7 separate regions of the Homo sapiens genome follow, and all the other regions are linked to region 5. The links are contacts of gene promoters, found by promoter capture Hi-C in blood cells and fetal thymus (Javierre and others, 2016). All regions are on one chromosome and are shown on one strand. Each heading gives the region's core, a stretch centred on a gene start or on the middle of the fragment in contact. The rest is flanking DNA. Distances are from core to core; before and after follow the strand shown. Region 1 overlaps ARL6IP6 (ARF like GTPase 6 interacting protein 6). Region 2 overlaps PRPF40A (pre-mRNA processing factor 40A). Region 3 overlaps ARL6IP6 (ARF like GTPase 6 interacting protein 6). Region 4 overlaps PRPF40A (pre-mRNA processing factor 40A). Region 5 holds the start of CACNB4 (calcium voltage-gated channel auxiliary subunit beta 4). Region 6 overlaps FMNL2 (formin like 2). Region 7 overlaps FMNL2 (formin like 2).

What was found. Contacts are between HindIII fragments. The CHiCAGO score rates a contact against its expected background, and 5 or more counts as called.
Region 1: a contact is called between a fragment that was not itself captured here and the fragment with the promoter of CACNB4 in region 5, in 1 of 17 cell types (total B cells). The highest score is 5.3, in total B cells.
Region 2: a fragment that was not itself captured here is called in contact with the fragment with the promoter of CACNB4 in region 5 in 1 of 17 cell types (M0 macrophages); the score reaches 5.1 in M0 macrophages.
Region 3: a fragment that was not itself captured here is called in contact with the fragment with the promoter of CACNB4 in region 5 in 1 of 17 cell types (monocytes); the score reaches 5.1 in monocytes.
Region 4: a fragment that was not itself captured here is called in contact with the fragment with the promoter of CACNB4 in region 5 in 1 of 17 cell types (monocytes); the score reaches 5.1 in monocytes.
Region 6: a contact is called between a fragment that was not itself captured here and the fragment with the promoter of CACNB4 in region 5, in 4 of 17 cell types (neutrophils, monocytes, M2 macrophages and 1 more). The highest score is 8.0, in neutrophils.
Region 7: a contact is called between a fragment that was not itself captured here and the fragment with the promoter of CACNB4 in region 5, in 1 of 17 cell types (M1 macrophages). The highest score is 6.6, in M1 macrophages.

Annotation. Positions count from the first base shown.
Region 1 is chr2:152,749,729-152,752,428 of GRCh38, reverse strand. All of the region lies in intron 3 of ARL6IP6 (ARF like GTPase 6 interacting protein 6), which reads right to left. Among named protein-coding and RNA genes, the nearest start is that of ARL6IP6, 32 kb to the right of the region's middle. The HindIII fragment of the contact is 668 bases long and covers 1,061-1,728 here.
Region 2 is chr2:152,685,092-152,687,791 of GRCh38, reverse strand. The region is part of intron 5 of PRPF40A (pre-mRNA processing factor 40A); the gene reads left to right. Among named protein-coding and RNA genes, the nearest start is that of PRPF40A, 31 kb to the left of the region's middle. The HindIII fragment of the contact is 495 bases long and covers 1,138-1,632 here.
Region 3 is chr2:152,725,280-152,727,979 of GRCh38, reverse strand. All of the region lies in intron 2 of ARL6IP6 (ARF like GTPase 6 interacting protein 6), which reads right to left. Among named protein-coding and RNA genes, the nearest start is that of ARL6IP6, 8.0 kb to the right of the region's middle. The HindIII fragment of the contact is 1,260 bases long and covers 711-1,970 here.
Region 4 is chr2:152,665,431-152,668,130 of GRCh38, reverse strand. All of the region lies in intron 16 of PRPF40A (pre-mRNA processing factor 40A), which reads left to right. Among named protein-coding and RNA genes, the nearest start is that of PRPF40A, 51 kb to the left of the region's middle. The HindIII fragment of the contact is 800 bases long and covers 890-1,689 here.
Region 5 is chr2:152,097,698-152,100,397 of GRCh38, reverse strand. It overlaps CACNB4 (calcium voltage-gated channel auxiliary subunit beta 4), which reads left to right and starts at 1,354. Exons shown (of 14, transcript NM_000726.5): 1 at 1,354-1,449; 2 at 1,985-2,068. The coding sequence starts at 1,387. RefSeq lists a silencer at 1,156-1,445. The HindIII fragment of the contact is 7,735 bases long and covers 1-2,700 here.
Region 6 is chr2:152,648,499-152,651,198 of GRCh38, reverse strand. FMNL2 (formin like 2) reads right to left here. Exons shown (of 26, transcript NM_052905.4): 26 at 1,373-2,700. Among named protein-coding and RNA genes, the nearest start is that of PRPF40A, 68 kb to the left of the region's middle. The HindIII fragment of the contact is 1,730 bases long and covers 538-2,267 here.
Region 7 is chr2:152,630,453-152,633,152 of GRCh38, reverse strand. FMNL2 (formin like 2) reads right to left here. Exons shown (of 26, transcript NM_052905.4): 21 at 1,016-1,145. Among named protein-coding and RNA genes, the nearest start is that of PRPF40A, 86 kb to the left of the region's middle. The HindIII fragment of the contact is 5,734 bases long and covers 1-2,700 here.

The DNA of each region.
Region 1 (2,700 bases), core at 145-2,644, 650 kb before region 5:
GCATTCCTAAAAGTAACCCTGGTACTAGAGGCACGCATGACCAAACCTGGCTGATTTTTTGTAGAGATACGGTTTTGCCATGTTGCCCAGGCTTGGTTTCAGTTTTGTTCAGTTTCATCATGGAGTCTACTATGGATTCCAAAATGGTTCTTATTATTGCAGGTCATGACTTTTTATTTCCATACTCTGAAGCAGGAAAACACTGTTAGGCAAATGGTAACAGAAGGGTAGAGGGGTTTGAAAAGACTGAATAGAGAATATGTAATTTTTATTCATTGGTTCTTCTACAATTTCATGAAGAGAAAGATAAGGGAAAGGAAAGGACCTAATCCCAGAAGAATAAGCCTGATCAGAAGCAACTTACCTTTATTACGTAATTTAGATCAATAAAGCAAAATGACTATAATTTCTGAAATTCTGTGTAATAGTCTAACATGGTGATGGGAATATAAATTAATATAGCCATTATGGAAAACAGTATGAAGTTTCTCAAAAATCTAAAAATGAAACTACCATATAATCCAGCAATTCCACTACTGGGTATTTACCCAAAGAAAGGACAATCAGTATATTCAAGAGATATGTGTACCCCATGTTTACTGCAGCACCATTCACAATAGTCAAGATATGGACTCAATCTAAGTGTCCATCAACAGATGAATGGATAAAGAAAATGTGGTACATATACACAACAGAATACTATTCAGCCATTAAAAAAAAATGAAATACTGTCATTCCTGGCAACATGGATGAGTCTGGGGGACATTAAGTGAAATAAGTCAGGCATAAGAAGATAAATATCACATGTTCTCACTCACATGTGTAAGCTTAAAAAAAATGAGCTCATAGAAGTAGAAGGTAGAACTGTGGTTATTCGAGGTTGAGAAGGGTGGTGGGGTAGCCGGGGAAGAAACAGCAGTGGGTGGGGTGAGAGAGGATAGCAGGAGGTTAGTTAACGGATACAAAATTACGATCAGATAGGAGGAATGACTTCTAGTGTTCTATAGCACTTTAGGGTAAATATGGTTAACAGTAACTTATTGCGTATTTTCAGAAAGCTTTAAGAGAAGATTTTGAATGCTCACAATACAAAGAAATGATAAATGTTTTCAGTGATGGATATGCTAATTAGCCTGATTTGATCATTACACATTGTATGGGACTATCATTCATTCTGTATTCCACTAATGAATATGATTATTATGTGTCAACTAAAAATAAAAAAAAAGTCAAACGTGGGAAACTTGATCAGATAAAAATTAAAAAATTTCCATTCAAGTAAAACTACAGCATTATTTATTATTAATACTGCCAAACTTCAAAAGTGGGTAGTAGATAAAACTGCATTACTGAATGAGGTAAAAGAAAAAAACAAGAAAAAAAATCCCACGGTTTCATGGCAACATCATAGAAATGTTTCACTTTGAAGACCTTCCATTTTACTTCAAAATTTACAAGGCTTATATATTTTTGAAAATGGCATGACTATTTGTGGAGATGTTACTACAATTATTATTTGCATATACGAATGTGACAGGTTAAAACAAATTCACAAAGAAATTCTAAGTTGCTGACATTCTCTCCATGTACTTAAATACATTGCACAGATGAATTTTCCTAAAACATTCCTTTGCTTTAAAATGCTTTTGTGTTAACTGGATATAAAATGTAAACGAGCAGAGCACACAATATTATTAACAAGGTTAAGTTTCCTTAATGATACAAGCTTTAACCCAGGTTTTAAAAGGTACAGCAATGGACTGACAGACAAAAGAGGTACATTGTGTAAAGGGAAAGAAAAGAACCAGAAGTGGAACTCCAACTTAAGATTTCATGCTTCTCAGGAGAAAAACTGGACCAGATGAACCTAAGGTCGCTTCTATTTCCTTCCATTTCCTTCCTTCCGCCCTCCCTCCCTTCCTTTCTCTCTCTCTCTCTCTTTTTTTTTTTTTTTGGACAGAGTCTTGCTCTGTCACCTGGTCTGGAGTGCAGTGGTGTGATCTTGGCTCACTGCAACCTCCGCCTTTCAGGTTCAAACGATTCTCATGCCTCAGCCTTCCAAGTAGCTGGGGTCACAAACACACGTGTCACCATGCCCAGCTAATTTTTGTATTTTTAGTAGAGATGGGGTTTCACCATGTTGGCCAGGCTGGTCTGGAACTCCTAACCTCAGGTGATCCACCCAGCACTCCCAAAGTGCTGGGATACAGGCGTGAGCCACTGCGCTCGGTCTCAGTTCTACATTTCTGTAAGTATCCCAGGTAGCAAGAAATAATCCTAAAAAACACCTCAAAAAGATTATGTACAGTTTTTTACCTATTAAAACAGGTTATTGGTCAACATTACCTGTACTTAAAACTAGAACAATGATGCAGAGGATATAAATATTTTAGTCCCAAAGAGTCAATTAAGGAGACCTATCTATGATGAAAATTAATGGATATAATTTAACCTGCTAAATCAACATTGTTAAGATGTGACTCTTCATTTGACCATATGAAAGAATAAGTAGTAAAATAGAGTACCCAATGGCAAAACCAGAACGTTTCTTTAGATCTACTTCCATATCCTGAAAGATAAGCTATATAGAAGGTATGACCTTTTTCTGGTTCTAGAGAATTCCTTTCAATAATAAAAAATTCTACAATGAAGTACTTATGTAGTCCCTGATAGTGGTTAAGAGTTCAAGCTCTATGATTA
Region 2 (2,700 bases), core at 136-2,635, 590 kb before region 5:
TGAATATACATTGACAAATTGTTACCATCCAAAGTACAGTTTATATCAGGGTTTACTGTTAATATTGTACATTCTATATATTTTGACAAATGTATAATGAATATGTATGTATCAGCCCTTGCAGTATCACACAGAATAGTTTCATTGCTCTAAAAATTGGTGCTCTGCCTATTCATTTCTTCCTCTTCTACTCCAGCAACCATTGTTTTTGTTTGTTTGTTTGTTTGTTTTTCTGCCTCCGTAGTTTTGCTTTTCTAAGAATTTCATATAGTTGGAATCATACAGTATGTAGCCTTTTCAGATTGGCTTGTTTTACTTAGTAATATGCATTTAAGTTTCCTCCATTGTCTTTTTATGGCTTGATACTTCATTTCTTTTTCTCACTGAATAATACTCATTATCTGGATGTACCACATCCAGATCCATTATGTACTGAAGAACGTTTTGGTTGTTCCCAAGATTTGGTCATTATGAGTAAAGCATCCATGTGCAGGTTTTCTGTGTGAACGTAAGTTTTCAGCTAATTTGGGTAGATATTAATAACGAGGAGCACTATTGCTGGATTGTGTTGTAAGAGTATGTTTAGTTTTGTTAAGAAACCTTGAAATTGTCTTCCAAAGTGGCTGCACCACTCTGAATTCCTAACAGCAATGAATGAGAATTTCTGGTATACCACACCTTCACCAACATTTGATAATATCAGTGTTTTGGACTTTTGCCATTTTAGTAGGTGTGTAATGTATCTTGCTTTAATTTGTGGCTAATTATATGTGATGTGGAGCATCTTTTTATTTGCCATCCTTACATCTTTGGGAAAGTGTTTCTTTGGATCTTTTGCCTATTTTTTAATCAGATTGTTTTATTATTGTAGAGTTTTGAGATAACAGGTTTTTATCATATTAAGTCTTTTGCAACTATTTTCTCCAAGTTTGTGGCTTATCTTCTCATTCTTCAGACTATCTTTAACAGAGCAGAAGTTTCTAACTTTAATGAAAACTAAATCTGTTCTTTCAGCCTATCAATTATTTCATGGATTGTATCTTTGGGGAACTTTTTTTTTTATGAGCTATCCTTATTGCATTATGATCAGAAAGTACAGTCTGTAAGATGTAAAGTTCTTTACAGTTTATTAAAGCTTCATGTATGTTCTTGTTCAGGGCTAGTTTTTAAGAATATTCTGTGTGCTATATAAAGTTACTTTGTTATTCCTGCATCTTGGCATGTCTTTCATCTGCTTGGATCTACATAAGAAGATAGTGAATTAAAATCTTTAACTAGAAAAGATGAGTCATCTGTTTCTCCCTGTATTTTTCTGTTGCCTGTCTGAATTTCAAGGTTAAATTGCCATATGCATATGTGTTTAGGATAATTTTTGATCTGTTACTTTTTACCAGTATATAGTCTCCCACTTTTCCATTATGATTTTTGTTTTAAATTCTGTTTAGGTAAGGTAAATAGGTACCCTATTTTTAAAGTTTCTGTTTGCATTGTAAAAATGTATTACAAGCCTGGAAAACAAAGTGAGACCCTGTCTCTACAAAAAATAAAAAATTAGCCCAGCATAGTGGTGTGTATCTGTAGTCCCAGCTACTCAGGAGGCTCAGGAGGGAGGATCTTTTGAGCCCAGAAGCTTGAGGCTGCAGTGAGCTGTGATCTTGCCACTGCACTCCTGCCTGGGCAACAGAGTGAGACCCTTTCTCAAAAAAAAAAAAAAGAAAAAGTTGTTACATTGTGAGTACAGTATTTTTCCTATTTTTATTTTAACCTGGTTATCGTCTATTCAGATTATTTTGTGTATTTGTCTTGTAACCAATGACATTACCAGATTTCCTTATCAATTCAAATAGTATTTTAAAACTGTAACTAGATTTCACTGGAATTTTATATGTGTAAAAATAGCAGTAAAGGCAAGAGAACTTTACTTCTCCAAAATTTACACCAGTAATTTCATTTTATTGCTGTGGTATATTTGCTAGAATTTTAGTGATTCCAGGCATGTTTTTGTGATTTTAATGGAAGTGGCTTTAGGGTGATAACTGATTGCCTTTTAATCATTTAGGTTTTTTATTTCTTAAATTATTTCATTTGAGCATTTTGCTTTTATTTTTTTATTTTTTGAATACTTGTGAACTTAGTTTTCTGGGTGTGATTTGATCATACAAAGTTTAATAGTGGGATCACGTGTTTTTTTTTTTTTTCATTTGATTAGATAGTGGAAATAATTTCTTCTGTAGATTTTCTAATATTGAACTACTCTTGCACTTCTACAGTAAATTCTGCTTGGTCAGAGTGTGTATGTTGTTAAATTTAAATTCATGATGCTCTTCTGGTATCTTTTCTGCTTCTTGTTAATTAATGGAGAGCATTTCATCTTTTTTTCCCCATAATCTGAAATCATGATGTAACATTGCAATTCTGTGTTCTTTAAAGGTTGTATAACATTCTGCTGTGAAACCATCTGGTTTTGTATCTTTCTGTTGTGTCTGTGTTGTTGGGATGTTCAAGTGTGATGTGCTTTTTCTGGGGTCAATTTTGGTTAAGTGATTTGCTTGGAAATCATTTTCTCTAGGTTTTGATTGGTTGTAAATCTGTATCTGTGATTGTATTTTTCCTCAATTCTGTTTATTATTTGGCTTTTTCTTTTTTTTTTTTTTTGAGACAGAGTTTTGCTCGTTACCCAAGCTGGAGTGCAATGGTGCG
Region 3 (2,700 bases), core at 91-2,590, 630 kb before region 5:
CTTTGCTTTAATTGTTGGAATCTTTCCTGGTGAGATTAAATTACTTACGTAACTAATGCATTTTATGATACTAACAATGAAAATACAATACAATCATACACTGATGACAGGGATATGTTCTGAGAAATGCATCATTAGGTGATTTCGTTGTTGTTTGTACATCACAAGAGCGTACTTACAAAAACCTAGGTATATAGCCTACTACACACCTATGAGCTATACAGTTATATCCTATTATTCCAATGCTACAGACCTGTGCGGCATGTTACTATACCAAATACTGCACGCGACTGTAATACAACAATAAGTACTTGTGTATCTGAACATACTTAAATATAGAAAAGGTACAGTAAAAATACAGTGTAAAAGATAAAATATGGTACACCTGTATAGGGTACTTACAATGAATGGAGCTTACAGGACAAAGAGTTGCTCTGGGTCAATCAGTGAGCGAGTGACTGATGAGTGAAGGTGAAGGCCAAGGACACTACTGTCCACTACAATAGACTATTATAAACACTGTACACTTAGGTTACGCTAAATTAAAAAATTTTTCTCTTCATTAATAAATTAACCTTAGCTTACTGTAACTTTCTTACTTTATAAATTTTAAAATTTAACTTTACCCTTTTCTACTAACAGTTTAAAACAAAAGGACACTGTACAGCTGTGCAAAAATGTTTTTTCTTTATACCATTACTCTATAAGCTTCTATTTCTAATTTTTTAGTTTTTAAACTTCTTTGTTGAAATCTAAGACACACACACATTAGCCTAGGCCTACATAGGGTCAAGGTAATATCACTGTTTTTCACTGTCACATCTTTTTCCACTGAAAGGTCTTCAAGGGCAACAACATGCATGAAACTGTCATCTCCTATGACAACAATGCCTTCTTCTGGGATACCTCCTGAAGGACCTGCCTGAGGCTGTTTTACAGTCAACTTTTTTTAAGCAGAAGTAATATAATCTAAAACAATAAGAAGCATAGTAAATACATAAACCAGTAACATAATTGTTTATCAAGAATTATGTTATGTACTGCACGTAATTGTGCTGTATTTTTTTTTATGACTGGAAGGTTATATAAAACTAGATTGGTAATAGGTTGGTTTATACCAGCATCAACACCAACATGTGAGCAATATATTGTACTACCAAGTTAGGACAGTTGCAATGCCACTAAATAGGAATTTTTCAGCTCCACTGTAATCTTATGGGACCACCATCATACAGGCATATATGCAGACCACTGTTGACCAAAATGGTATGTGGTGTATGGCTGTACTTAGCTAACTTTAAAAGTTGTAAAAACTATTACCAGCTGGCTACTAATAAAACTTAGATGTATCATATGCATGAAACTAACCATCAATTTTTAAATGTTTATGTAAGCAAATGTTCTCAACTTTATTAGATTCTATAGTTTTCTAACTTGAGAGGATGACCATTATTTTAAATAATTTGGTATCCTCTCTAAATCACATTCTATAGATAGCTCAAGTCTTTAAATCCCTAGAGCAAAGTGTCTCTTTACACGTCAAAGCCAAGTGCAGGAGCAGAGGAAAGTGCTCTCTCCTCTCCTGCCAATGCAACATGAGCATAGTGGGTGCAGAGTGCATGGTAGCTATAGCAGTTACACTGGTTAAGGCCTTCACCCAATCGCCCGACCACCTGCAACCCAGACTGTAGCATTTCTACATCTTTCTGTTGAAACAGATGAGGAAGGTGATCCTCTGACAGATTAAGTGACTGAAATTTCAAAAATAAATAACACCTGTAGTTCCCAACATTGGTAAATCATTAGATTCACATGGGAAAATTAAAAAAAAAACCCAACACTTTTATTACAGATCATTTCAAACACAGGAAAAAGTTGAGAGAAGTATATAAAACTCATATACCCATCATCCAGCTTTAAACAATTAATTCATGGGCAATCCTGTTAAATTTATATTCTCCTCTGAAGCTTGTAATCTTCAGTATAACAGGGAAAACAGTCATCAATATTTTTATCATATAAGTCCAAAGAGGCTTTTTTATTTCCTTTATTTTCATGACACTTGAAGAATAATTTAGAGAGCAAAAAGACAGCAGGAAAAAAACTTTGTTAAAAATTTTCATAAGAAATAAATACAGCAAATCCGAATTTCAATTCCCAGTTTCCCTAAAGTCATGTACACCAAAAATGGGCACGACCTGAGTGCAAATAATTGCTTACTAACTTCATGTATGAATCTACAACATATCCATCTTGTAAATACCACTTCCAGATTTCAGATACATCTCAAATTGGTTACAGCTTGTCATTATTCCTGCTTTTTTTTTTTGCACTTGCGTCATTAAAACACAATGTTTGAAGGAATTTTTAAGCCTTTCATGGCTTATTTTGACGAAAAGAGGACAACAATCTTCTTTGCTCCATAATTTGTAACATATTTTCATTTTTAGATTACAAACAATTCAAATGGTCAACCCAATAATTCTTTTTTGCATTTTTTTTTCCAAATCACCTTTGTATACACATCTGCCCTTAGCATCTGTCCACTTACAAACAGTATCAAATAAATTAGGATGCAGACCTCATAAAAGATGAAAAAAATACTTAAAGTCTTAGGAAAGTCTTACTGGAATCCTAATTCCATCATAATTATTTTATTCTTTCGACCATAGTTGAGAATTGATGAGTAATACTAAAATA
Region 4 (2,700 bases), core at 40-2,539, 570 kb before region 5:
GCATGCCTGTAGTCCCAGCTACTCAGGAGGCTGAGGTGGGAGAACCTGAGCCCAGGAGGTCAAGGCTGCAGTGAGCTGCGATGGTGCCACTGCACTCTAGACTGTGCAAAAGAGCGAGATCCTGTCTCCAAAAAAAAAAATTATTCGCGCTATGCCAAAGGTTACTGTGTTAAACGTCACAGCCAGTAGAAAGATTTCAGTCCTTATTCAATGAAAACTTAACATTTACTACTCTTGATAGGTTCCTTTATCTTAGTGACTTTCTAGACTTGATCATGTTCTACAACGGTTAAAAACACAAATTGTTTAGCCTTACCTGAAGAATTTGAATTAGTAAGTCTGGGGTGGAGTCTGAAAATTTCATTTCTAAATTTCCAGGTGATATTGATACTGTTGGACCATAGTTTGAGAACCAGTGCGCTAGCATGTTAACCTTCTCTGCAGAGTTAGGGGTATGCTGCCCCCATTTCACATTTTAACTTGGAAAAAGTAGAAAGAACAGTTCTTCTTAAAGCTAATGATGTAGAAGTTCTGCTCACCTCCTTCATTTGGGTTCAGTTGCTGAGAATTTAGTCACAGGGCCACAACTAGCTACACAAAGGAGGCTAGAAAACTTAGCTTTTAGCTAAGCAGCCATGTGCCCAGAAAGAAGGGGAGGACAGATTCTTAGGAGGGCTATTATACACTCTTCCACAACTTAAGCTTTAATGTCTCTGATGAAGGTTTTGCAGTGGTTTAAAATAAGGAGACATATATGAAAAAATAATAATACAGTGAAAATAAGGTCTGGGTCATAGAAAATACGAGACTATAATGTAAACAATATTGAAGATGGAGACTGTGAGGCAAAATTTTGATGTGAAGGCTGTTACGGTTCCTTAAATAAGCTTAAATGTGGCTTTGAATCAGATTGCTATGTGTCTGGCATAGTTTCTGATTACTACTAATATAATTGGTGTTAAGTATGTTGTATTAATATTCTTTCAGATATTCAGCCTGGTAATTTTCCTGTTGTGCTATTTCAAAAGATTTATTTAGGACTTTAGTGAAATGAATTAAAAGAGAAGATTGGCATTAGACAATAAAAGATCATTAATGGAGAGCTTCTCAGTAGTTATGATTATGATGATGACTAGCTTTTTATTTAGTGTTCATTTGCTAATCAGAAAATTCATCATGTCTGTGACAAGGAAACTATGATCTTGTTTTTCTTATGTCTTAAAACTGGTATTTGAAGTCAGTTTTGTCTGGAAAGGATTGATCTGAGGCTTTCAAGGAGAACCAGAGGAATGTATAGTGTCTCAGAAGCCAAGAGTTTGGAATTTTAAGATAGAGCATGATCCCCAAATGCACAGAATCAGTATCACCTGGGAAATTATGAAAATGCATATTCTCAAACTCCACGTCAGACTTACAGAATCAGATTCTGGAAATGGGACCTAACAATATGATTTTTTTAAACAGTCCTTCAAATGAGTCTTTGAGAAACCCCTGAGGTAAAGGAATCCACCTAAAGTAACATGTTAAGAAATTTTTATGGAATGAGGACTGAAAGAATACTGTTAAGGGTGGCATTTAAGGTGTTAAGAGTGGCATTTAAGGTGTTTAGTGACCATTGGCATGGTAGGGAAAGTTAAAGGTCTGCCAAATAGTTGAAAGATATTCAATAAGGTAAAATTCAAATAAGCTTGCAGTTAAGAGAAAGGCTTTTCTTGGGTAAGAGGAAACCAGTTAAGAGGGAGAGAATGAAGGAAGAATTGAAAAATAAGGGTGAGTCTCATTAAACAACATCTCGGAAAGTTGGGAATTCAAGCATATATATGAATACAGTTACATTGAGAACAGTATATAAGAGAACAAAAAGAAGGATGAAGATGGAGAAAAATTAATACCGATTTGGATCTAAGACAGTGGTGCTCAACCAAGAAAGATTTTGTGATTGTCACTATTTGTGGGGAACATGCTACTGGCATCTAGTGTGTAGAGGCGAGAGATGCTGATAAACATCCTGCAATGTACAGGGCTCAAACATACCCCGCCCTCAACCAAGAGAAAGAAAGAAAAAAAAATTACGTCATCCAAGATGTCATTAGTGCCACGGGAAGAAGAAACATCAAGCTCAGCCATCTTTGAAGCAACTTGCTTTCCATAATGTAAAAGGCAAGGCTTTTTCACCCCTAAAATGGGGCAAGTAAAATAGAATAAGAACCATACAGTTTTGTCAGAGTGGTTTTCAAACCTGAATTCACATCAGTCATCTAATATTCCAAATATCTGGATATTAATTCATATTGCTTTAAAAAAATATTCCTCAGGTGATTCTTTCAGGTTAGGGATCCACTATTGAAATAATTTCAGTCTCACAGTTCTTTGACTTTATCAGACAGATCTCACCAGTCTGGAAGTGTAAGAAACACTAGCAAAACAGGTATGATAGAGTGAGGTAAGTTCTAAGGTACTAGAGCATCACTAAAGATGGTTTCCAAACTATTTTAGATACTCAGGGAGCAAGTGAGGAAGCTGGTGAGCACAACAAGAGTGGTTAAGACAAAATTCCATTTATGTTGAAGGGTAAGGGTAGTTGACAGAAGGGTAGATACAGGCAGGGTTTGAGAAAAGAATTTCCGAGTTGTAAGGGAGTATGGACATATTTAGTCTTGTTTGAAGAGGAGTGAGTGCAGTTGTAAGTGCCTGATGTTA
Region 5 (2,700 bases), core at 105-2,604:
GATGGAGAGTGATCAGAAATGCAGGAGAGGCTGAGTTGTTGGACCATGGAGTTTGGACTTTATCTTAGAGAAGAGTGACTTGGGCAAGATATTTTAGGAAAATGGTTTTGCCTGTAGTGTGTAGATGGAATGAAATCTCTGCGTGTGTATGTGTGCATGTGCATACGTGCACATGCACCAGGAAGCCTGGAGGCAAGGACATTAGTTATAAGATTGTTACAGAGGTTTGGATTAAGTGAAGGGATTAGGAATGGAAAGGAAGTGTCTGGTGGATGGTAAGATATAACCAGGACCTCAATAAAGCCAAGCAATTATTAAAACAAGCATGGTAGTTGTGTCCATAAACATAAAGTCCTAGAATGCAAGCTGATTTAGCGATTTGAGATAGTAAGTATATTTTAATTTAAACGGAGTCTCTTTATTTTTGAATTTGCATATACTTTTCTTCCCTCTTCTTATTCCTCTGTCAATACCTCGCACTTATTCTTCCTTTCCGCAATCCCTCTCTTTTAATTTGATCACAAATTAATCTCTTGTATGTATTTACAGGAGGAAACCAATGGCAAACGTTGTGTATGGTTGCAAGGATGAGTTTCTCCCCCTTGAAAATATCCATTCGCATAGAAATGGGAGGCACAGTGACCAACTCTTGCTTCTTAGCAGGTCTAACATGACCTTCAAAACTCCGTAGGACATACTGGTCTTTGGCGGGGCAGCATCTCCCGTCAGACTCAGGCTGGCTGGGTTTCTCACAGCTGCCTGGATGTGTGTGACTCGCAGCTCTAAGGACAGAATTGCCAAAGCAATACAAAAACACGGACGAAAAGCAAGCCACAAAACCCCATGCCTTACACATTAGGCTGATGAGTGAAGTCGCGGAAGGTGGCTCTGCTCTTGCCCTTTTAAAATTCCAGTGCAGCAAACACACACACACACACCCGCTCGGTTCTTCCCATTCCCGCCACACTGCACCAGCTTCCGTCCCCAAGTCCTGATTCATGAACCGTGCCACCTTTGTCTCATTTTAAACTGTGCAGACTATTTTAATCTTGCCACCCCCATCCCAGATTTCCCCCTCCCTTCATCCTCTGGAAGCTCTGATGTAAAGCGCTTGCTAGGTGGGAGAGCGCTTCTCCCAATCCGCTCGGGTAGGCGAGTTTCCGAGAAGCCCCCTCCCCGGGACCCCGCCGCGAGCGCGGGGGAAGCGCCTCGGTCCCTTTAAGGTGCCGCGCTCTCCGAAGTGCGGGCAGGGAGCCTGGGCGCCGGCGCGGGTCCTGGAGCCGGGTGGGGAAGTCCTGCGCCCTCCCCCTCCGTCCGCAGCCCAGCCTCGGGGGCCAGCCCCCTCCGCCCACCGCACACGGGCTGGCCATGCGGCGGCTCTGAACGATGTCCTCCTCCTCCTACGCCAAGAACGGGACCGCGGACGGGCCGCACTCCCCCACCTCGCAGGTACCGCCCCCTCCTCCCCCTTCTCCTCTTCCTCCTCTTCCTTCCTCACACCTCCTCCGCCGCCCTAGCGCGCCCCGCCTTCGTGCCGGGCGTGCGGGGCCCCAGTCCCGGGAGTCGGCGGCCCCGCTCCCCCCACCCCTCCTCCACGTCCCTTTCTCCTCCCGCTCCTCCTCTTTCTCCTCCTTCTCTTCCTCCTCCTCCTCACCCTCCTTCGGGTCTCTGCGCTCCCGCTCCGGAGCCCGCAGCCTCCCCCAGCGGATGCCGGGGACTCGGACCCCGCACCCTGAGAGTCTTTGTTAATGGATGTGGTGGGTGCTTGCGGGCTGCTCTTCTCGAGCATCTTTTCAGCAGTCGAGGCTTGCAGTGGGTGGGTGGGGGTGGGGGCTGTATTTGGGAGTCGCGGAGGAGACTTGGGTGCGGGCTCTAGGGGACCCCAGGGAGCGGGTCCGGAGGCGGACTCCAGCCGGGGGTGGTCGCCCCGCTCTGCGCTGCGGTCCTCACCGGCTTCTCTCTGGCCCCCGTGTGTCGAGTCCAGGTGGCCCGAGGCACCACAACCCGGAGGAGCAGGTTGAAAAGATCCGATGGCAGCACCACTTCGACCAGCTTCATCCTCAGACAGGTATGAGAAGGAGGCGGGAGACCAGGATGGGGAGGAGGCCGAGCGCGCGGCGCGGGGGTCCTGGAGCCGGCCGTGGCCCACACGTGCGGGAGCTGCGGGTCAAGCCCGCGCGCGTCTCTTCCCGGCCTCGGCCGGTGCTCGGGCTCAGTCCCTCTCCCTCTAGCCTGGGCTCTTGACGTCTTCGCGTCCCGGCGTCTCCGCACCGCCCCGGGAAGTTAGTTTGTGCATGTGTGTGGACAGTTCGGTGGGGACCTGGCTTAAGTCAGGGACGTTGAATTTAAGAGCTGGAAATATGTCTGGTTGTATCTTTGGTGCGTGGAGAAATGTCTTTAATTCGTATAACTCGACCTAGAGTAACCAGACCCCTCGGGGCCGGGGACCTGGTTTGATTCGAGTTGAGATTTAGTGGTTTCTTCTGTTTTGTCCTAATTTGAATACTCTTATCTGTCTGGATCTTGGGAGAGATCGTCAAGCTCCGGTCAAAAGAAAGACACTGAGCAGAAAGTTTACTCTCACTTTAGGACCGCTTCTTGGATTCGCTTAGTTAGGGAAAGACAGCTGTATCTGGTTAAATAGGAATTAACGAAGGCCAGCACTCAGCTCCGGGTCTGGGTGCGCCTTCACTTCGTGTT
Region 6 (2,700 bases), core at 153-2,652, 550 kb before region 5:
GGAGGATGGCTTGAGCCCAAGAGGCAGAGGTTGCCCTGAGCCGAGATTGTACCACTGCATTCCATCCTAGGTGATAGAGCCAGACCTTGTCTAACAAACAAAATGTGGATTATGGAGCGAGTATAAGAAATGTATCATCTATTTATTTTCCAGTGTAAAATCACCTTATTCTACAGAGAAGATTCCAGTATGTTGAACCAAAGCAGAGTCAGTGATGGGTATCAAGCCCTATTCTATTGAGAGCAGAGTTGAGTCAGGATGGCCACTGGGCACTGCAGTGAATTTCAGTGTTAGATGATGGGGAGTGGGGAACGTGAGTATTTAATTCAAAGTCATTGGTAAATACCTTTTAAAAGAAAGATGAATGTTACTCTATCTGCCTCATTTGAACTTAACTGCTGTAGTTGAGTTTGAAAACATTCTGAATTTGTGGAATATTAAAAGATTTTTCTTTTACCATTAGGCACCAGTCTGATGGTAAAACAAAAGTAGAGATCCTTACTGATCGCAAGACTTTTTCTCTCATAAAATAAAGCTTCTAACACATTGTATAACTGGTTTAGTGGAAAGTGCACTGAATTGCGAACAAAAGACCTAAGGCTTTATTATAGGCATTTATTAGATTGCACCCTGGGCAAGTCAGTTTGCTGAGTCAGTTTCCCAATGTGCACAACAGTGTTAAATACCTCACAGGCTTCTTGTGAGGAATAAAGATTATTGCCTTTAATCTGTAAGCAGTTGTGTGTGACAAATGCAAAGTACGCTGTGGTAGTTGTGACAATAATTATATAAATTATAATTCCTTAAATGACTATAATATATATGCCTCTAAATTTAAGCCACTTGAAAGGTATTCTAAAATTTAAAATTTTTCTTGTTTCCATAAAAAGAACATATGAAATGTTACACATAAACTTTTGATGACTGGGAGTTTTATTACAACTGTTTGTGCAATGGGGGCCAAACTGCTTGTTTGCCTTGCCAACTGGTATGGTTATTGGGTGCAGGGTTAACTATGCAGTTAATATATAGCCTATTATCTTTATTTGTACAACATCCTAATTGTAACATTTGGTGGGGCTGCTGGGGGCGTTGTGGCATTTCACCAAACAAAGGTGCTGTTTACCTAGAAGGTGTATGTTTATAAATGCAATTTTGGAGATGTAGTCTCACTTCCAAGATCCATTGTCTATGTTTTATATAGCAAGCGGTCAAGAGTTCACATAGGGAGGAATCCTTCCTGACGTTTACCAAGTATATTTGGATTCTGAGTTCAAATAGCAAGATATATTTGTTTCTAGAAGGTAAGTCTACATAATATTGCTAAAACCCCCTAAATTGTACCATTGAAAGATTACAACATATTACAGAATAGTAGTGTAAATAGTTTATTATTTGCTCATATGCCATGAAAAGACCAGAAAAGTAACATGAATTGCTTTTATAAAACATTCTAATATTGCTAAGAAGCAGGCCCATTAATAGACAAACAGAAAAGAACATGCCAACGTTGTCTATTTGTAGATTAATAAATAGGCAATTATTTTAATATACATATATGTCAGCATTGAACTTTGGAAAACAGCTGCTTTGTAGTGGAAGTCCAACTTGGTCAAATTGCTATTTTTAATCGAAGTGAATGTTGAGTCCACAGAAAGACAAAATCGTGGCATGTTCTTTTTAAAGTAAAGTACACATTTATGGGAATGTGCCCGCAGGTGGCAGTTTAATCTTTCTGTAAATAGGTACACTAAAGTGAAATGTGGTAGGTAACTTGTTCCCTAAACTGTCCTTATAGTTAAATATATATATTAAAAAAAACTATAAGTTAAAATAACATTCAGATTGTATAGCATAGGCTGATGCATTTTAAAACAATATTTACAATATTACCCAGAGGCTTAGGTGGGAATTAAAGAGAAGTGTAAAAACCATAAAAAACTGCACCGATTTTATAGCAAAATATCTGTACATTTAAAAAGATCATATAACTACACATCCAAGGAAAAGGGACCTTCACCAAGGGGTTCACATAAGCACAACATAAAATAGGAACTTCAGCGGTTAAATACTATACAATAAACTTTACAATTAATATATTGATGTACCAAGAAGATAAGCCAGAAGCAGAATGTATATTATGAAAAGTACAAATTTAGCTTCAGTCCAGTTTTTGACTTTGGAATGGATCAAGTGCCCTGCCAGAGAGGAAGGAAAATAACAGTGGCTTAGTGGGCCATCTAGTCCCATTACGTATTATTTAAGCTTAATACCATGTTAATACTTTTCAGCAACTTAAACTGCAATTCTCCATAAGTAGTCTGGGAAATGCATGAAAAACTTAGCCTCGATACACGATGCCAAGTGTATCTTCTTGAATTTATAAAAAATAAGAAAAAATTGCGATTGTCAGAGGAGAGTAAGGCCAGGTTCCTAACACTACTCTGCTAGCAGATGTAACCTTGAATGCTTGTTGATAGAGCTAGTAAACTTCCTTGCAAGGCACCAATTTCTGTTCTCAGAATTAATAATGGTCCTCAGAAATGCTAATGCTGATTACTGAGATGTTAATTTTAATGCTAATAAATACACTTGCATTATTTAAAAAGCTGCCTCTAGCTGAAGAACACAGTACTGCAAATAAGTCTTATACACTATATCCCCACATTCATACTAGTGAATGCCTCTCACAGAGCATCG
Region 7 (2,700 bases), core at 81-2,580, 530 kb before region 5:
CTGCACTGTAGCATGGGCCACAGAGCAAGACCCTGTCTAAAAAAAAAAAAAAAGAAGAGCACAGATTGCAATGGACATGCAAATTGTTGTAATACAGTATGAGAAATCTTGTACGAGAGGGTAGACCAGAGTGTTCTTTAGTGAGAACACAGAAGCAGCAGCCATTTACCATGGCTGAGTTAGAGAAGGCCTCACCCTCCAAAATTCCAGATGCCTGAGGTACCCCACAGGAATCTGAATTTATAATAAACACTGGCTGCTTATGGTTCGATATCACAATTTGAGAATCACAGCCTATAAATGACTGTAAGGTCAATCTGCATATCATTCCTTTTGCTAATCGAATATGCTTTTGAGGGAACATGGTACATTGGATAATACACTTCATGAGAAGTAAGACCAGGTTTCTAGTCCTGTTTCTATCACTTTCTACTCATGTGACTTTGGGCAAGACATTTAACCTCGAAAAATCTCAATTTTCTCACCTATAATAATGGAGATACTATTACCTTGTACATCCCAGCTATCTTAGAGTCACAGATGATTTAAATGACAAAATGTATAACTGTCTTAGCAAAGTAGCAACCAAGAAGTGCTAATAATTTAACTAGTGTCCAGGCAAAGGCAAAATGTTTACAACTGCCACACTTGAGCAAGTAGAATGGCACAAAATCAAATTAAAAGTGTTTGTTGGGTGATGATTCTCAGATTCTCATTCTCACATTTCATACAATAGCAGCAGAATAAAAAGGGCAGTGAATAAAAGAGGGAAGGGACATGACGCTCAGTGGCCTGTGTCTTACAGAAAGGACACAGAGATCACCTTTACACCCATGTGCTCTTCTGCTCTCAGGGGTGGACAACACCACGGCCGATGTGTTCCAGCTCAGTGTGTCTGACTTCTTAGCCTTGGCTTTTTAAATGGGTTCTGAAAAGTGTTTAAGCAGGGAATGGCTCCACCACAATTAAAGGCATTAAATACCCAAGACGAACGGTAATAGCTGAAATCAAGTACCTGCAGCAGCTTTTTCCACATAATGAAGCTCATTATAAAACAGGGACACTTGGTGATATTTTTCTTTCACCACATTGGATATATAGTGCAACAGTGTTTGCTTTCTGTCTGTTGACTTTGTATCTAAGAGCTGAAAACAAAAGGGAACGTGGGTTAGGTACAAGAGTAAAGGGTAACAAGACACTTACCCCTCAGGTGACGATTTCCCACCCAGAGTCATTAACTGAGTAACAGTCGCCCAACAGGCTGGAGCATTCCCAGAGGAGGGTCAGGATTCCATTTGTTCCTTAGTGAACCAGTCCATTGATGCTTAACTGGCTCAAGGACTTTCCAACCAGGGCACATGCTTAACTATAGGGATGACTCTAAGCACCTAAGAATGATTCGCAGCTTTCCTCTACAGTAGTTCCTATTTACCCACAGGTTTACTTCCCATGGTTTCAGGAAACCCACAGGTTTCAGGTATCCAAAAATACTAAGTGGAAAATTCCAGAAATAAACAATTCATCAGATTTGAATTGCGCACCACTCTGAGCAGCATGATAAAACCTCGCACGTGCCATTCCCATCCACCCTAGACCGAGAATCACCCCTTTGTCAAGTGGATCCACGCTGTAATCATTACCTGCCATTAATCACTTAGTAGCCATCTGGGTTATCAGGTTAACTGCCGCCTATTGCAGTGTTTGTGTTCAAGTAACGTGTTTTATTTAACTGCTCTATTTTTTTTTTTTTTTTTTTTTTTGAGATGGAGTCTCGTTCTGTCGCCCAGGGTGGAGTGCAGTGGCACAATCTTGGCTCACTACAAACTCCACCTCCTGCGTTCAAGCGATTCTCCTGCCTCAGCCTCCCGAGTAGCTGGGATTACAGGTGCCTGTGACCCAAAAATTAGCCCAGCTAATTTTCCTATTTTTAGTAGAGACAGGGTTTCGCCATGTTGGCCAGGCTGCTCTCAAACTCCTGACCTCAGGTGATCCTCCCGCCTCAGCCTCCCAAAGTGCTGGGATTACAGGTGTGAGCCACCAGGCCTGGCCTATTTTATTTTTTAGTTATTGTGAATCTCTCACTGTGCCTAATTTATAAATTCAACTTTATAACAGATATGCATCTCTAGAAAAAAAACAGTGTATATATAGGATTCAGTACTATCTGAGGTTTCAGGCATCCACTGGGGGTCTTGGATCACAGCCCCCATGGATAAGGGGGACACTGATTACATGAACTCTCCCAGCCCTGCATCTGCTATCCCACCTTCCTTGCCTTAAAAGCAGGACGGCTCTAATTTTAGTGCTCTTCAAAGTAAAAAGCCAGAGGAGAAATGGGGATGTACAGCCAGCAGGTGCATGCAGGTGCCTCCTACACAGCAGGGCTCCTATGCTCCAGTTTTTACATTTAGCTTAGGCCCTCCCTTATTTCCTAGCCTGTGAAGACCTGAAACAGACATGCTTAACTGATCATGATCTGCTGGAGGCCAGAACTGTGACTGACTAGACACTCCATATTAAATAACTAGCTCCCTGGTCGGGGGACTCAACCCACTGCCCAGCCTTCTCATGTGACAATCACGTTAGGCCTGCACAGTCTGGAGGGAGTCCACGGAGGATTTTCTCTAGTCTTATTCACATTAGTTAGGTGACTCTGAAAATTAGAGCACCCTGCATGCAACAACAACAACAAAAATTTAA